3 separate regions of the Homo sapiens genome follow, and regions 2 and 3 are each linked to region 1. Evidence: promoter capture Hi-C in 16 types of primary human blood cells and fetal thymus (Javierre and others, 2016). All regions are on one chromosome and are shown on one strand. Each heading gives the region's core, a stretch centred on a gene start or on the middle of the fragment in contact. The rest is flanking DNA. Distances are from core to core; before and after follow the strand shown.

Evidence for each region. The method cuts DNA at HindIII sites, captures the fragments that hold promoters and counts their contacts. A CHiCAGO score of 5 or more calls a contact.
Region 2: a fragment that was not itself captured here is called in contact with the fragment with the promoter of POLE3 in region 1 in 1 of 17 cell types (erythroblasts); the score reaches 5.9 in erythroblasts.
Region 3: a fragment that was not itself captured here is called in contact with the fragment with the promoter of POLE3 in region 1 in 5 of 17 cell types (naive B cells, naive CD4 T cells, megakaryocytes and 2 more); the score reaches 7.6 in naive B cells.

The regions. Positions count from the first base shown.
Region 1 is chr9:113,408,743-113,413,311 of GRCh38, forward strand. It overlaps POLE3 (DNA polymerase epsilon 3, accessory subunit), which reads right to left and starts at 1,933. Exons shown (of 5, transcript NM_017443.5): 1 at 1,875-1,933; 2 at 1,486-1,666; 3 at 1,313-1,398; 4 at 868-986; 5 at 1-241. The coding sequence starts at 1,551. The coding sequence ends at 69. It overlaps C9orf43 (chromosome 9 open reading frame 43), which reads left to right and starts at 2,005. Exons shown (of 14, transcript NM_001278629.2): 1 at 2,005-2,259. RefSeq lists enhancers at 731-1,930, 833-1,732, 1,305-1,584, 1,825-2,014, 2,633-3,532. The HindIII fragment of the contact is 4,412 bases long and covers 1-4,408 here.
Region 2 is chr9:113,541,149-113,546,059 of GRCh38, forward strand. All of the region lies in intron 17 of RGS3 (regulator of G protein signaling 3), which reads left to right. Among named protein-coding and RNA genes, the nearest start is that of RGS3, 80 kb to the left of the region's middle. RefSeq lists enhancers at 1-468, 1,193-1,708, 1,709-2,224. The HindIII fragment of the contact is 3,376 bases long and covers 244-3,619 here.
Region 3 is chr9:113,629,541-113,633,911 of GRCh38, forward strand. No RefSeq gene overlaps it. Among named protein-coding and RNA genes, the nearest start is that of RGS3, 170 kb to the left of the region's middle. RefSeq lists an enhancer at 2,135-2,698. The HindIII fragment of the contact is 7,179 bases long and covers 1-4,371 here.

The DNA of each region.
Region 1 (4,569 bases), core at 683-3,182:
TCACAGAAACACGTAGCACGTCTCATTTCAAGTGGTACCTTCCAAGGTGCCACAGTCTCCCGCCCTTTTCAGTTGTCTACTTCTTCCTCTTCATTCTGTTCTTCTTCTTCCAGCCTTTCTTCGTCTTCATCATTGTCCTCATCCCTGCTCTTGTCTTGCTCTTCCGAGTCTGTTTTTTTGTCTTTGTCCTTCTTCTTTTGCTCTGAGGCCTCCTTCTTGCCTTTCTGCTCCCGCCTATATGCTGTAAGGACGGAACAAGGGGTTAGGAGACAGAGCTGAAAGTGAGCCAGACGGACTGCAGGAGCTAATTACATTGTACAATTGGAAAAACGGAGGCAGATGGGCGCGGTGGCTCACGCCTGTAATCCCAGCACTTTGGGAGGCTGAGACGGGCGGATCACCTGAGGTCAGGAGTTCAAGACCAGCCTGGCCAATATGGTGAAACCCCGTCTCTACAAAAATAAAAAATGAGCCGCACGTGGTGGCGTGCGCCTGTAGTCCCAGCTACTCGGGAGGCTGAGGCAGGAGAATTGCTTGAACCCAGGAGGAGGAGACTGCGGTGAGCTGAGATCCCATCACTGCACTCCAGCTTGGGTGACAGAGCAAGACTCCGTCTCAAAAAAAAAAAAAAAAAAACAAAAACAAGAAAAGCAAGACAAAAACAAAAACGGAGGCAGAGAAGGAAAAATAACTTGCTCAGCATTACAAAACAGATCTGAGGTGGTGCCCACCGAACTGGGTCGAGTCACATCAAGTGCTGGCTTACTGGACTTAAAGGGACCCGCGCTGAGAAGGCTCAGGGCCTGGTGAACAGGTCACACAGGATGACCATCTTCTATGTGGTTTAGAAGACAAGAGGCTCGTTACCTTCCAGAGCTTCTTTCAATGGGGTAACGAACCGCTGGAACTCCATCTCTTCCATGGCTGAGAGCACATCACTGGCATTCAGCGTCTTCCGCTTTCCTTTCATTGCAAAGTTGTTAGCACTGAGAGAAGAGAAAGGCTGTCAGACTCCCTCTTGTTTGTAAGGCGTGAGTGGGAAAAGGAGCACCCAGAGGTGGAACGGGAAAGCCTGCCTCTTACATGTATGGATTTTGGTGTGACAGGGATAAGTCCTTCCCTTCTCTGCACAAAAAAGCTAAAGCAAAGTGATTTTGTTGTGTTATTTTGCTTCAGAACTTGTAAAAACTGGCAGAGGACTGTGAACATGTCCCCACCGAGGGAGAACACAATCGTTGGGGTTTGTAGGCTCCCAGCCAGCAACTCCCAGCCAGGTATCCCCGCGCCTCCCTTATGCCTCTGTCCCGCTCACCAGGATGTGGCGTACAGCACGAAGACGCTGGCGGCGCGGGAGATGGCGCTCCGGGCCTCCTTGGAGATGTTGACACCGTCCGGGAGCTGCGAGGAGACCGGGGGTGAGCAAAGCTGCCGTTCCAGCACCTGCTTCCCTCCTGCCCGTTCGTCCGCCCCCCCCGAGCTGCTCACCGCCTCCTTGATGATCCTGGTGATCACGGCATTGGGCAGGTTTAGGTCCTCGGGCCTCTCCGCCATTGCCGCCGCTGGGGCTTAAACTCCCCTTCGCCTCCGCTTCAGGGAGCTACTGCGTCCGGACTTCCCGCGTCGCTACGGTCTGACCCTGCGAGGTTTCCGTTCCGCCCCACGTGGCCTACAGTGTCCCACAGTGCTCTGAGCGCCATAGCCTCCCTCCTCCCCCCACAGCCCCGCCTCCGCCTCAAATACCGGCGCATCCGGATTTTGAAGCCGCAGTGGTTTTGGCCCGCCAAGGCTTCCATCCAACCCTACCGCACCCCGCACGCCCCTCCCCAGGTCCATTTCTCTGCTTCTCGCCATCGCCGCGTCGGGAACCTTCTCACCAACTTATTTGGCTCAATGGAGCTTCCGTCCGTTTCCCATGGTGCCCTGCGCCGCTGCTGGGTGACGGCGCGGCCGGGCGCAGCGCGTGGGAGACGAAGGCGTGGCTGACTCGGCGGGGCGGATCCCTTTAGGACCCGAGGCAGGCTCTGGGCCCGCCGGGTCCGTTAATCTCACCGCGCCGCAAGGGGCCACGTTTTACCACTTGATTTAGCAACCCTAAGCGGTTTGGAATCTGCTTTGCTCTCACAGGACCTCAGCCCGTCGTGATCAGATTCTCCCACTTTCTTTTTTCTTTCCTGGAATGGAGTGGGCAGTCTTTTTCCATCTCTACCGAAGTTGATGTTCATTTTTAATCTTTTCGCCCCTCACGCTTTTGTAATAATGGTACTAAGACTGAGTGTTATTTAGATTTTATTGTTGTTGTTTGTGTTTAACGCGAACTATTTAGGCAGCCCAGGGATAATGCTGGCCATATAGAGATGCGCCTGATTAGGTCTCAGGAGTCAATTCGGACTGGGCAGGTAACGAAAGGGCGAGAAGCAGCCTTTTCACTGTATGAAGAATGCAACGTCACATTCGCTTTCAAAAACAAACCGTGTTAAAATTGTATTTATTTTTCAGTTAAATTGTTCATCATACATTTTTTCCAGTTAAAACCATTCTCAAGGTTTTGCAATGGCGTTTCTTTTTTTTTTTTTTTGAGACAGTCTCACTCTGTCGCCCAGGTTGGAGTGCAGTGGCGCCGATTTCGGCTCACTGCAAGCTCCGCCTCCCGGGTTCACGCCATTCTCCTACCTCAGCCTCCTTAGTAGCTGGGACTACAGACGCCCGCCACCACGCCCGGCTAATTTTTTTGTATTTTTAGTAGAGACAGGGTTTCACCGTGTTAGCCAAGATGGTCTCGATCTCCTGACCTCGTGATCCGCCCGCCTCGGTCTCCCAAAGTGCAGGGATTACAGGCGCCAGTCACCGCGCCCGGCGCAATGGTGTTTTAAGTTGTTTTTAAGTTATTTTTATATTAAGTTCGTAGAAATTCTCACTCCCACTGATTTTATTTATTTTTTAATTTTTAAAATTTCTTGACAGGGTCTCACTCCGTCCCCCAGGCTGGAGTGCAGCGGCACGGTCTCGGCTCACTGTAGCCTCGACCTCCCTGGCTCAGGTGGTCCTCCCACCTCAGCCCCAAATAGCTGGGGCTACAGGTGCGTTCCATCACACCCAGCTAATTTTTTGTATTTTTCGTAGAGACAGGGTTTCACCATGTTGCCCAGGCTGGTCTCGAACTCCAGGGCTCAAGTGATTCTCCCTCGGCCTTGCAAAGTGCTGAGATTACAGGCATGAGCCACGGCGCCCAGCCTCCCACTGAGAATTAATGCTGCTTTTTTTTCCCGTCAAGCATGCAGTCCCAAGTCGCCCTGTAGTTTTCCTGCTTTCGATAGAAGCCTGATTATAGAGAAATATTTTAAAACAAAAGAGCAAATGCTATGATAAATGGCAACTGAAAGTGTTTCAATTAGAGACCATAAGGTCTGGTGGGGGAACTCCGCTTGGATAGAACAGACCTGGCTGAAACCATCAGGGCTGCTCAGCGCTAGTCAGTTGCTCTTCAACTGGAATTGGGCTCAGTGTTGTCAAGTATTTTGGTCCCTAAAAGGACATTGTGGGCTATTTCAATTTTAAAATTGATTCAAATTTAAAATTGATTCAAAGTGCTAGCCAAACAAAACAAGTAATAGGCCAGGTGCAATCCCAGGCTGATAGTTTATCTTTGATCTAAATTATGAAACTGTTTAGAACAGGGAGTTTGTTTATTACTGTTCATGTCCAAAGCAGGTCCCCTCACATATTTAGTAATCAATAAATGTGTTGAATAAAAGAAAGAAATGGACACTGTCCTTAAAAAGTTCTTAGGAATAAGGTGGTAGTTAGTGATTGCCTAAAACACCTCTAGAAAGGAAAAGATGATAATATTTATTGAACACCTCCCATGAATAAAAGTACATTATCTCATTTAATGCTTCTGCAGTCCTACTTAGGGATTCCCTGCCTTCTGCTTATGTTATTTATTATTTTTTGTGGAGAGGGGGTAACTCATCTTGGCCTACCAAAGTGCTGTGGTTACAGACCTGAGACACCAAGTCAGGACCCCTCCCCCTACTTGAGAGAGAGGTGTGAAGACCCTTGTCAAAGGCCATATGGCCAATGAATGAAAAGCTAATGGCCTCTGATGCAACTAGCAGTGTCTAGTGATTTGCTATTTGAGCAAACACATTCATTGCTGGTGGGTATTTTATCTGCCTGCATGGGAACTGAAGCACATTGAAAAATGAAACATGTCTTCCAGAAGTTTGGGCCTTCTAAGACACTTCTGTGACTACTTTGGTCATAATTTGATAATGCTTTTTGGAGATGGTGGCATCTTCTCCCTGATGACTAACGAAGGGGAAAAGGAAAGGATGCAAATATTTATTTGGAACAATATGCCAGGCTTTTAATATCCATTAACTAATTTTTATAATGACCCTGTGAAATAAGCTTATCCTCATTTTACAGTGGAGGCAACAGGCTCAGACTGGTTAAGTCCCAGGTCACTCAGCTATTAAATAGCCAATTAGGAGACCTGAAGTCCTGCTCTCAAACTCTTGCCATTCTACTTTATGCTGAGCTATTTTCATACTTGCTTGTTATCCAATC
Region 2 (4,911 bases), core at 682-3,181, 130 kb after region 1:
TGTGACGGTGAGGTGCGTGCCACCTTGTCATCTCCACTGGGGCCACTAGAGACAGCCCTGGAGATGCCAGGGTGTGTGAGTGCCTTAGAAAGGAACAGAGGCAGGTCCTGCAGTCAGGCAGCCCGGCCTGAGTAGACAGCGAGCTAATTCCAGTTCTGTCTGGTTCCACAGAAACTCCACCCTTTCGGCTCTCTCCAGCAGGAGATGGGGCCGGTCAACTCAACCAATGCCACCCAGGATAGAAGCTTTACCTCACCAGGACAGACTCTGATTGGCTGAGCAAACCCAAGGGCGGGACTCTGCTTCTGGCAACTTAACCCTTTCTTGGGCATCCCCTACCACACAGTAACCTCACCTCAACTGGACCTGAAACAGAGGACCAAGATGGTGGGTCTAGGGTCATCTGAAGGGAGTGGTCCCAAGGGTGCATGTGGATGTCAACAGAAGGACCACAATGGTGTGAGAGGCCTTGTGGGCATGCAGAGACTGGCAGCAGAAAGTCCCAAGAGGAGAGGACTCAGAGGCTTCTTCCTTCCAAGGAGGAGGAGGAGGAGGACATTCCACATCTGGGCTTCCAGTGGTGGCTCCCGGACCTGCCTTGGGGGCAGCAGGAGAGGTTGGGAGAGGTCACCCTGATGAAGAACAATGCCATGATCTGCTGCTGCCAGAGGACATCTCCGCCCATCCACTCATTTTCCACCTGTACACATTGGCTCATTCATTCGATGGATATTTCGGGTGCATCTACTTTATGCCAGGCTCTATGCTAGGAGCTGGGGATACTGTGGAGAAAAAGTCGGATATGGTCTCGCTCTCATCAAGATTTCAGTCTAGCTGGGAGTGAGCGTTAAATAAGTCAATACCAACACACACACGTGCACACACGTGATGGCAAGCTGTGATCATCTATGAAAGAAAAAACACAGATTTCTTTAAGAGGGAATTGTACTTAGAGTGCTGTGTGTGGGGGTGGGGATGGGGAAGGACATAACTTTTAAACCGAGACTTGTGGGCTGGAGAGGAAGGAGCCAGTCCTGGACTTGGGGAAGAGTGTTCGCGGTGGATGGAATAGCACGTGGAGAGTCCCTGAGATGGGAAGGAGCTCAGTGGGCTGGAGGAATGGCGAGCAGGCCAGTGTGGCTGGAGCTTAGTGAGGTGCAAGACACAGTGGGTGAGGTAGTTGATGTCTTGTTGATTTCATTCTAGATACACTGGAGAGCCATTGAAGGCTTTTGAGGAAGGGAGTTGCAAGTACATTTTTACAAGATCCGTTTACACATAGGAGGGGCCCAAGTGGGTGTGAGATCAGTTAGGGGGCTCGTTCAGTTCTCTAGGTGAGGACTGTCCTGGTGGCTTGTCCTGGATGGTGGCTGGGGAAGTGGATGCCTGAATGCCAGGCTCTGGAGAAGAGATGACTCCCTGCCCCATCCCCCTGCCTACCCTCCTCCTCAATGGCCCCTCTCTCAGTGGATGTGAGTGAGGATTAGGACCTTCCCCACAGAGCCACCTTTTGGCCAGGCCTCGTGGGGGATAGTGGGGGCAGTGCTGAGTTCTAGGAGTGTTCCTGGAAGTTGGGGGCAGTGAGTGCTCAGCCTGGCCCAGGTGGGAGAGTTCACTGCTGCCCAGGCCTTAGCAGGGGCTGCTGTGCTGTCTTTCTGTCCCATGCTGAGCATTGTGATAGGAAGCTGCCACACAGTGCCCTGGAAACTGACTTCGCATGCTTTCCATGGGGCTTCCGAGGGCCAGGGACTGGGCTGGGGGTGGCCTAGCAGCTCTAGTGGAGACTGTGCTGCCGCAGGGCTGAAGGAAGACCAACCAAGGGGACAGCCGTTTGAGCCCAGCCCACTCACTGCCTGCTGCACCTCCAGCTGGAGCCCAGGGTTGGGCAGCTCTCATACTCTTATCTAACTGCCAGACCTAGAGGGAGGGAAGCCCAAGGCTGCAGGTCTGAGGGACACGGCTCATGGGCAAAAGGGTATCAAGAGGATTAGAGTCACTTGCATAGGAAAAGAGGGTCAGAGAGGCTGAGGGCTGGCTGAGGCCAGAGAGGTTCCCTGACCTTGGACATTCTTTGTGTTGTGTAAGACCTCGGCATCTTTAGAGAAAGGTTCTTGTGCCCCTGTGAGCTTGCTCAGCTGCTATGGCCACTTGAACCCCAAAAATGGTGGCCTAGAAGAGAATACACCCCTTACTTCCCACTTATCCTCCTCTCAACCTAGGAAAGATCAGACATATTGACTCAACAGTCTAACAGGGGATGGGCTGGATCTGCCCGTGACCAGACCAATGCCCCCCACCCAGCAAGGGAGTAAACGCTGCCTGAAGTGGGACCAGTGATACACAGCATCTCTGTCTGCCAGGGCTCAGCCCGCGGGGGGGATTTGTGAGAGGCTGAGCAGCTGGGTCTGCACAGACAGCAAGCTGCACTTTGATTTCATTTGATTCCCTTACAAAATGACATTAAGGGGAATGTGAGGCACAGGAGACTCGCCTGTCTGGGAAGGCAGCAAGCTCATCTCTCCTGGACCTGGTGACCTACCTCTGTCTACCAGACAGGTGCAGAGGACAGGAGCTCTGGCCACAAAGAAATGGACAGTCTGAATGCAGCACACAGCCCTGGGGACAGGACTTTTCACCCAGCCTGTCCTGACAAGCTGCTGAGTCGAGCAGATGCTCACATCAGGGTCCCAGGTCCGGCTGTTAGGGAAGTGGACATCAGTTCCTGGTGGGCCCTGGGCAGTGACTGTGGTGAGCCACAGCACCATTGCTGCTCTGCCTCTCAAATCGATCGAACAATTAATTTGGCTCCACAGGCTCGAGAAGATGAAACATGACCTGATGGCCACTGCTGTCCAGCATCCCAGTCCATCCTAGCTGTCCAGGATGATGAACAAGCTATGGAAATTGCACTTGAGAGCTATAATCACGGGAAGCATTGCCGAGCCCCTCCCTGCTACATAAATCATGCTAAGAAGCACACAATGGCCTCTTTCCTGATGGGCTAATTGTCTTGGTTTGGTGTCTCAGGCCCAGGAGCTGGGAAGATGGGAGCACAACCATTTATTGTTGGAAAGACCATCTGTGCAACTTGAATACAAAGTGATTCTTTTAGTTCCCCACACACCCCCGACCCTCTGATCCCATTTTCATGTTTTTTTTTTTTTTTTCTTTTTATGTCTCAGGCTCTGGTTCTTTTAAAACTCTTCATCTATCCTGTAAGCCATCAGGCCTGGATCTCTGCTGGCCTGGGTCTTTTGGCTATTTGGGGGTTGGGACATTGCAGACCTTTTGGAAATAATGACATTTATTTATATATGTCTTATATTTTTATTCTTTATTTTTCCCCATAAATTCTATTACCAAAGTCCTCATTTGTCACACATGGCACCAAGGCACCAAGAGGGTTTTTGCAAAGTGAAAATGCAGGCAATTTTGCAACGTGGAAGGGCTCCCCACAGCGAAAGTCCCACAGTGAGAGCCTAAACTTTGGAGATGGCAACTGGGGTCCCCAGGCATGATCTCCCCCCAGCCTCCCAGCAGCCTTGTTTTATGGATGAAAGACACCAAGGCTCTGAGAAGTTAAGTGTTTTATCCTAGGTCACACAGCTGGTAAGGGCCAAGCTTGCCCTCAAGCCAAGGCCTTTGAACCTAATCTACCACTCATTTCTGATAAAAAGGTTTGTCTTTTAGGGATAGAAGTAAGAGAAATCAATAATCTCCAGGAAGAGGCAAGAGAGGGATATCCGGCATGTCAGAAGCTGTGGCCCATCAAGCTGTAGAGGGAATGCTTTTAGGATAAATAAAATGAGATGCCTTATTTTCCACCCAGTGGAGAATAAACTTCCAGAATGCATTTTCCTGAGGGTGGCACAGGCTGAAAAGATCAATAGCTTCCCACAAGATTTGAAAAAAGCCTAAAATGAGAGATCAGTTTGAGCTCCTTAAGACAGGTTCTCAGGGAGCTCTGGAATGGTTAGGTTACACCCCTTCCCCTTTTGAATTTGGCATCAAAAGGATCAGCAGACAGAGTCATGGAGTGCTTGGCAGTGATGGAATATTAGCCAAAGGCAGAGAGGTATAGCTTCAGGCTCAGGCTGGCTTGTGCCCAGCGTAAGTACTGGAAGGAGGCCTTTGACCTGAGACCAGCTGAGGGCACAGAGAGGGCCTGCCCATGTGGAACCTGCCAGGTTTTGTGCGCAGATTTTGCTAATTGACTGATTTAGTATCTCAGCCCTGAATAAAGGGGAATCAAATGGATCTGATTTCAGCCATCTCCCCTAAGAGATGCAGACTCTTCTCCCTAAAAACTGTTTCCAGGCAGCCACCAGCTCTCCTCCCCATTCCTTGCTGCTGTCCTATCAGTGGACAGACTGCCTTCTTCGCTGTCTTGCTCTTGGTCTCAGCCATCTTGCTATTGTTTTTTTTAGCCCCTGAAGAAGACAGTGCAACCTTACCCTCTATCCTGTCTTCGCCTTCTCTTCCTCGAAGACTTTCTCTGAATAGGGCCATCCATCCTCCAAACTGTTCCCAGATCCTTGGTTTTAAAGGTAGAATGATAACATAAGGTAACCTGGTGGGCACTTACAAGATGAGCCAGGCACAGGGTCAAGCTTTTTACCTACCCTGTCTCATCTAATCCTCATGCAGACTTACAAGGTGTGTTACCCCTGTTATACATTTACTCTCATTATGCCCAATTTAGATATGAAGACGCTGAGTCTCAGAGAAGTTAAGAAACGTGCCCAAGGTCACACAGCTAGTGGGTAGCTAGGATTGAAACTTGGACAGCCCAGCTCCAGGGTACCTGCTTTTGATTATTTTGCTATATGGCTTTCCTGTAACTGCAGACCATCCAAGCTGGAAGGGCCAGGGAGACTGGACTGTCACACTCCTGCTTAAAGACCATTGTGG
Region 3 (4,371 bases), core at 601-3,100, 220 kb after region 1:
TTGACCACAGGACTCAGAAATTTCACTCCGAGGTATAGATCCAAGAGAAGTGGAAATATATTCACGCAAAAACCTGTAAATGAATGCTCACAGCACATGATTAATAATTTTCAAAGAGTAGAAAAAACTCAAATGTTGATCAACTGCTAAAGGGATACACAAAATGTGATCTGTCTAAACAGTGGAGTATTATTTAGCCATAAAAAAGAATGAAGTACTGATTTATGCTACAACTTGAAATGTTTAACCTTGAAAGTATTATGCCAAATGAAAGAAGCCAGTTACAAATAGTCAAATGTTGTAGAATTCCAATTATATAACCTATCCAGGTGCCAAATGCAGACAGATAGAAAGCAGATTCGTTGCCAGGAAATGAGGGGAAGGGGAGTTGGGGATTGGCTAGTATTAGGTCAGTGCAGAAGTAATTGCGGTTTTGGCCACTTAAAATAAAAAACGTCAAAAACTGCAATTACTTTTGCACCGACCTGTTAATAGGTATAAGATTTCTTTTGGGGATGATAGAAATGTTCTAGAATTAGGTAGTGGTGATAGTTGTACAACATAGTATACTAAAAGCCACTGAATTGTACAATTTATTTATTTATTTATTGTGACAGAATCTCACTCTGTTGCCCAGACTGGAGTGCAGTGGCACCATCTTGGTTCACTGCAACCTCTGCCTCCTGGATTCAAGTGATTCTTTCTGCCTCAGTCTCCTGAGTAGCTGGGATTACAGGCGCCCACCATCATGCCTAGCTAATGGCTAATTTTTATATTTTTAGTACAGACGAGGTTTCACCATGTTGGCCAGGCTGGTCTCGAACTCCTGACCTCAGGTGATCCACCCGCTGTGGCCTCCCAAAGTGCTGGAATTACAGGCGTGAGCCACCGTGCCAGGCCTGAATTGTACACTTTAAAGTAGTGAGTTTTACGTTATGTGAATTGTATCTCAAAAAATAAATTAAAAGTATGTGCAATGAGAGAAGACGGTGTTCATGGTTTATTAAAGGGAAACCACAAGGTTACATAACTTAGCTGCAATATCTACCATACTCTATACATACGAGAATTCCTAAAAAGTAACAGTATTAGAATATGTGTGTGTGTGTGTGTGTGTGTGTGTGCGTAGCAGATACAGATGCAACCACAAACTGAGACACGTAAGAAATGTCATGTTTGTCTCAATTTTAAAATGACCTGAGAAAGAACTCTTCTGTGCACTCGCTTTAACCCTCTTTCTTCCTTACTACTCAAACCTTCGCTAGGTTGAAACTGCAGCCTGGAGAATGGGATTGGAGGTGAGAAGAAACTGACATTCTGTCTATTTCTAGACCAGAAAATTCTGCACTGGTCTAGAAATAGACATGATTGCCTTGGACTGTGTTTGCAATTTAAAGGAATTGTCATTACTAAGACAGCAAAAAAGTCGCCCCCCCCAACCCTTCCTGGAGTTGTCCCACTGACTACATTTTAAAGAGATAATGGAACACAAAAATAAAGTTGTGCTTTTGATTACATTACCAGTCTGGCTTGTTCAACCTGCTGGTTCCAATAGCATTATTTCTGCACCTGTTGCTAGCTAGGCATTGGGCTACTATAACAAAGGTTTGCCTCGTTTAGCCTCAAAAACATCCTAAAGGCAGGCCATACCCTCCAGATGATCCAGAAGGAGAAACTGAAGCCCAGGGTGGTTACATTGCATGTTCTTGGTCACACAGCTAGTAGGTGGCAAGTTTGCCTTTTTGAGCCTCTATCTCCTCATCTGTGAAATGGGGATGCTATGGTTACCTTGCAGGGTCACTATAAGGATTCACAGAGGTGAATGGGGGTGCTCTGCGCACTGTAGGGGGTGCAGTCAAGGATCACATCTTCCTCTTTGAGCCTGCCTCCCCGTCTCCTGGCACTGTGTCTCTGGATGAGACTGGAGCTGTGTTTGGCCTCGTATGTCCTCACATCTGGAAGGCATAGACTTGCTGGCACACTTGGCTTTTGGGTTCTGGAAATCCCCTCTCCTGTCCCCTGACCTTCATCTCTGGGCAGCTGACAGCAGCTGACTCCCCACAGCCAGGCTGGAGGGGTCTCAGGCTCCGGGAAGGATTTCTGCCTCCCCAGAGAGGGCTGGCTGGCTCAGCCTTCTCGGGCAGCACTCCGCGTTAACCTCACTTCACGACCATGTTTCTGGTTTACTGGGAACCAGGCAGAATCTGCCGAGTCCTCAAAATATGAGAGGCTGAGGTTTTCTCTGCTGGTGTCTGTCTGGCATCCTGCTGGTCCTTATGAAGGGGTCCAGGGAATTGGGTTTGCAAAAATCTGGAGTGGGGTGCAATACAGGGCCCTTGTCTTCTGGCTCCCAGCCTAGTGGCAGGGCAGCCTCAGCCTGCATATTGGGAGAGAGGCTCTCCCCCAGTCTGCTGGTCCTGTGTTCCAACCTCACTTGCTATGTGATCTCAGGCAGAGACCTTTGCCTCTCTGGGTCTCATGAGCCCGTGTGTACAAAGACATGATTAGTTCTCCATGCACTGTGTGTGTGTGTGTTCATGGGCTATGCATGAGTGTGCCTGTGTGACAGATGGGGAAATTTGGAAATGGGGAGGCATTTTTGGTTGTCACAAGGATGAAGGCAGGGTGCTGTTGGCATTAGTGCCGAGAAGCCAGGGATTCTAAGTGTCCTGCAGTGCACGGGATAGTCTCACGTCGTGAAGGCCATTTGTGTCTCATTGAGAAATTCTGGGCAGGATCATTTCCCAGGTCTGTGGTTTTTGATATTTTAAGATTGTTATCGGAAAGGAGCTCATTGCTACTTAATCTGAGGAAGAATTTTTCTATGCTAATATAACTATCATCACTTGAGTCAACAGGCACAGAGCCAAGGAATGAAGAAGTCCCTCAAAGACTGTCCCATAACAGGGTGGGTCTGGCTAACTGGAAGGCCCCTTGATAGGTGTGACTGTGGGAAGGTTTGGGATTAAGGGTTGGAGGGATTGGAATTCCTAGTCTTAACAGACGGAGAGAGCAAGACTGAATGGGTGCAGGGGGAGGAGGCGTGGGAGGAGAGGAGAGAGGAGAAGGCATGGGTGGAACACTGGGCCCCTGGAAGGTGGGGGCCCTAGGAGGCAAAGTGGGCAGAGGAAGGTTCTTGGAGGTGCGGAGTTGGGCAGAAAAAGATACTGAAAACCAGGGATGTCAAATGTTCAGTGCGAAGCGTGTACCGCAGTGTAAACATGCCTCCACATTCCATCATCAGTTAGGTCTACAGCCACCCACATGTTTCTTGGGAATATGGGTTTTTCCTGGTAATTGAGGAAGGGGCTGAATGGTTTATCTTAGGAGACATACTGAGGAGCTGAGATGGTGATGAAAGGGCCGCTGAGATGGTGATGAAAGGGCCACTCAGATGAGCCACAGCTGGTCTGACTCAGAGGCGGCAGTCGCGAGGAGCAGAGAGACCACGAGAAGGCAAGAGCCCTCATGACAAAAATCTCGGGGAGGGCTTTCAACTTCCATGGGCCTGGAGTGAGTTACAGTGGTTAAACAAGCAGGTTCCCAGTTCAGGGTACCTGGGCCCAAATCTCAGCCCTGCCCTTTCTACCCATGTGACCTTGGCGAGTCACACACACTTCTCTAAGTGAGTCGGCTTCCTCATCTGTGAAATGGGGGTAACATTAGTGCTTCCTTAGATTTCGTTGAGAAGATGAAATAGCAGGATCCTGAAAGGGCACTGAGCCCAGCCCCTGACTTGCTTCTCAGTTGATATTAGTTGATATTGATCATAGACAATGGTCCCTATGCTCCATTGTCTCTGGGGGCAGGGAGGTGGCAGCTGACATTTGGGTTTCAAGTATGCTTTCTCATCTAATGCTCACACCAAGTCCACAAGGCAAATATTTGACTCCTCATCGTACAGATAAAGAATCAGAAGCTGGCCGGGCACGGTGGCTTACTCCTGTAATCCCAGCACTTTGGGAGGTCGAGGTGGGCGGATCATGAGGTCAGGAGATCGAGACCATCTGGGCTAACACACTAAAAGCCTGTCTCTACTGAAAATACAAAAAAATTAGCTGGGCGTGGTGGCGGGTGCCTGTAGTCCCAGCTACTCGGGAGACTGAGGCAGGAGAATGGCGTGAACCCGGGAGGCGGAGCTTGCAGTGAGCAGAGATTGTGCCACTGCACTCCAGCCTGGGTGACAGAGGGAGATTCTGTCTCAAAAAAAAAAAAAAAAAAAAAAAAAAAGAATCAGAAGCTCAGAGAGGGGAAGTGGCTTGCCTGAGGTCACACAGCTATGAAGCACTGGAGCCAGGGTTTGAACTCAGGTCTCTCTGACTGCACAGTCCTGCTTCTGCTCCTCCAGGCAGCCTCCTGAGTCATCTACAG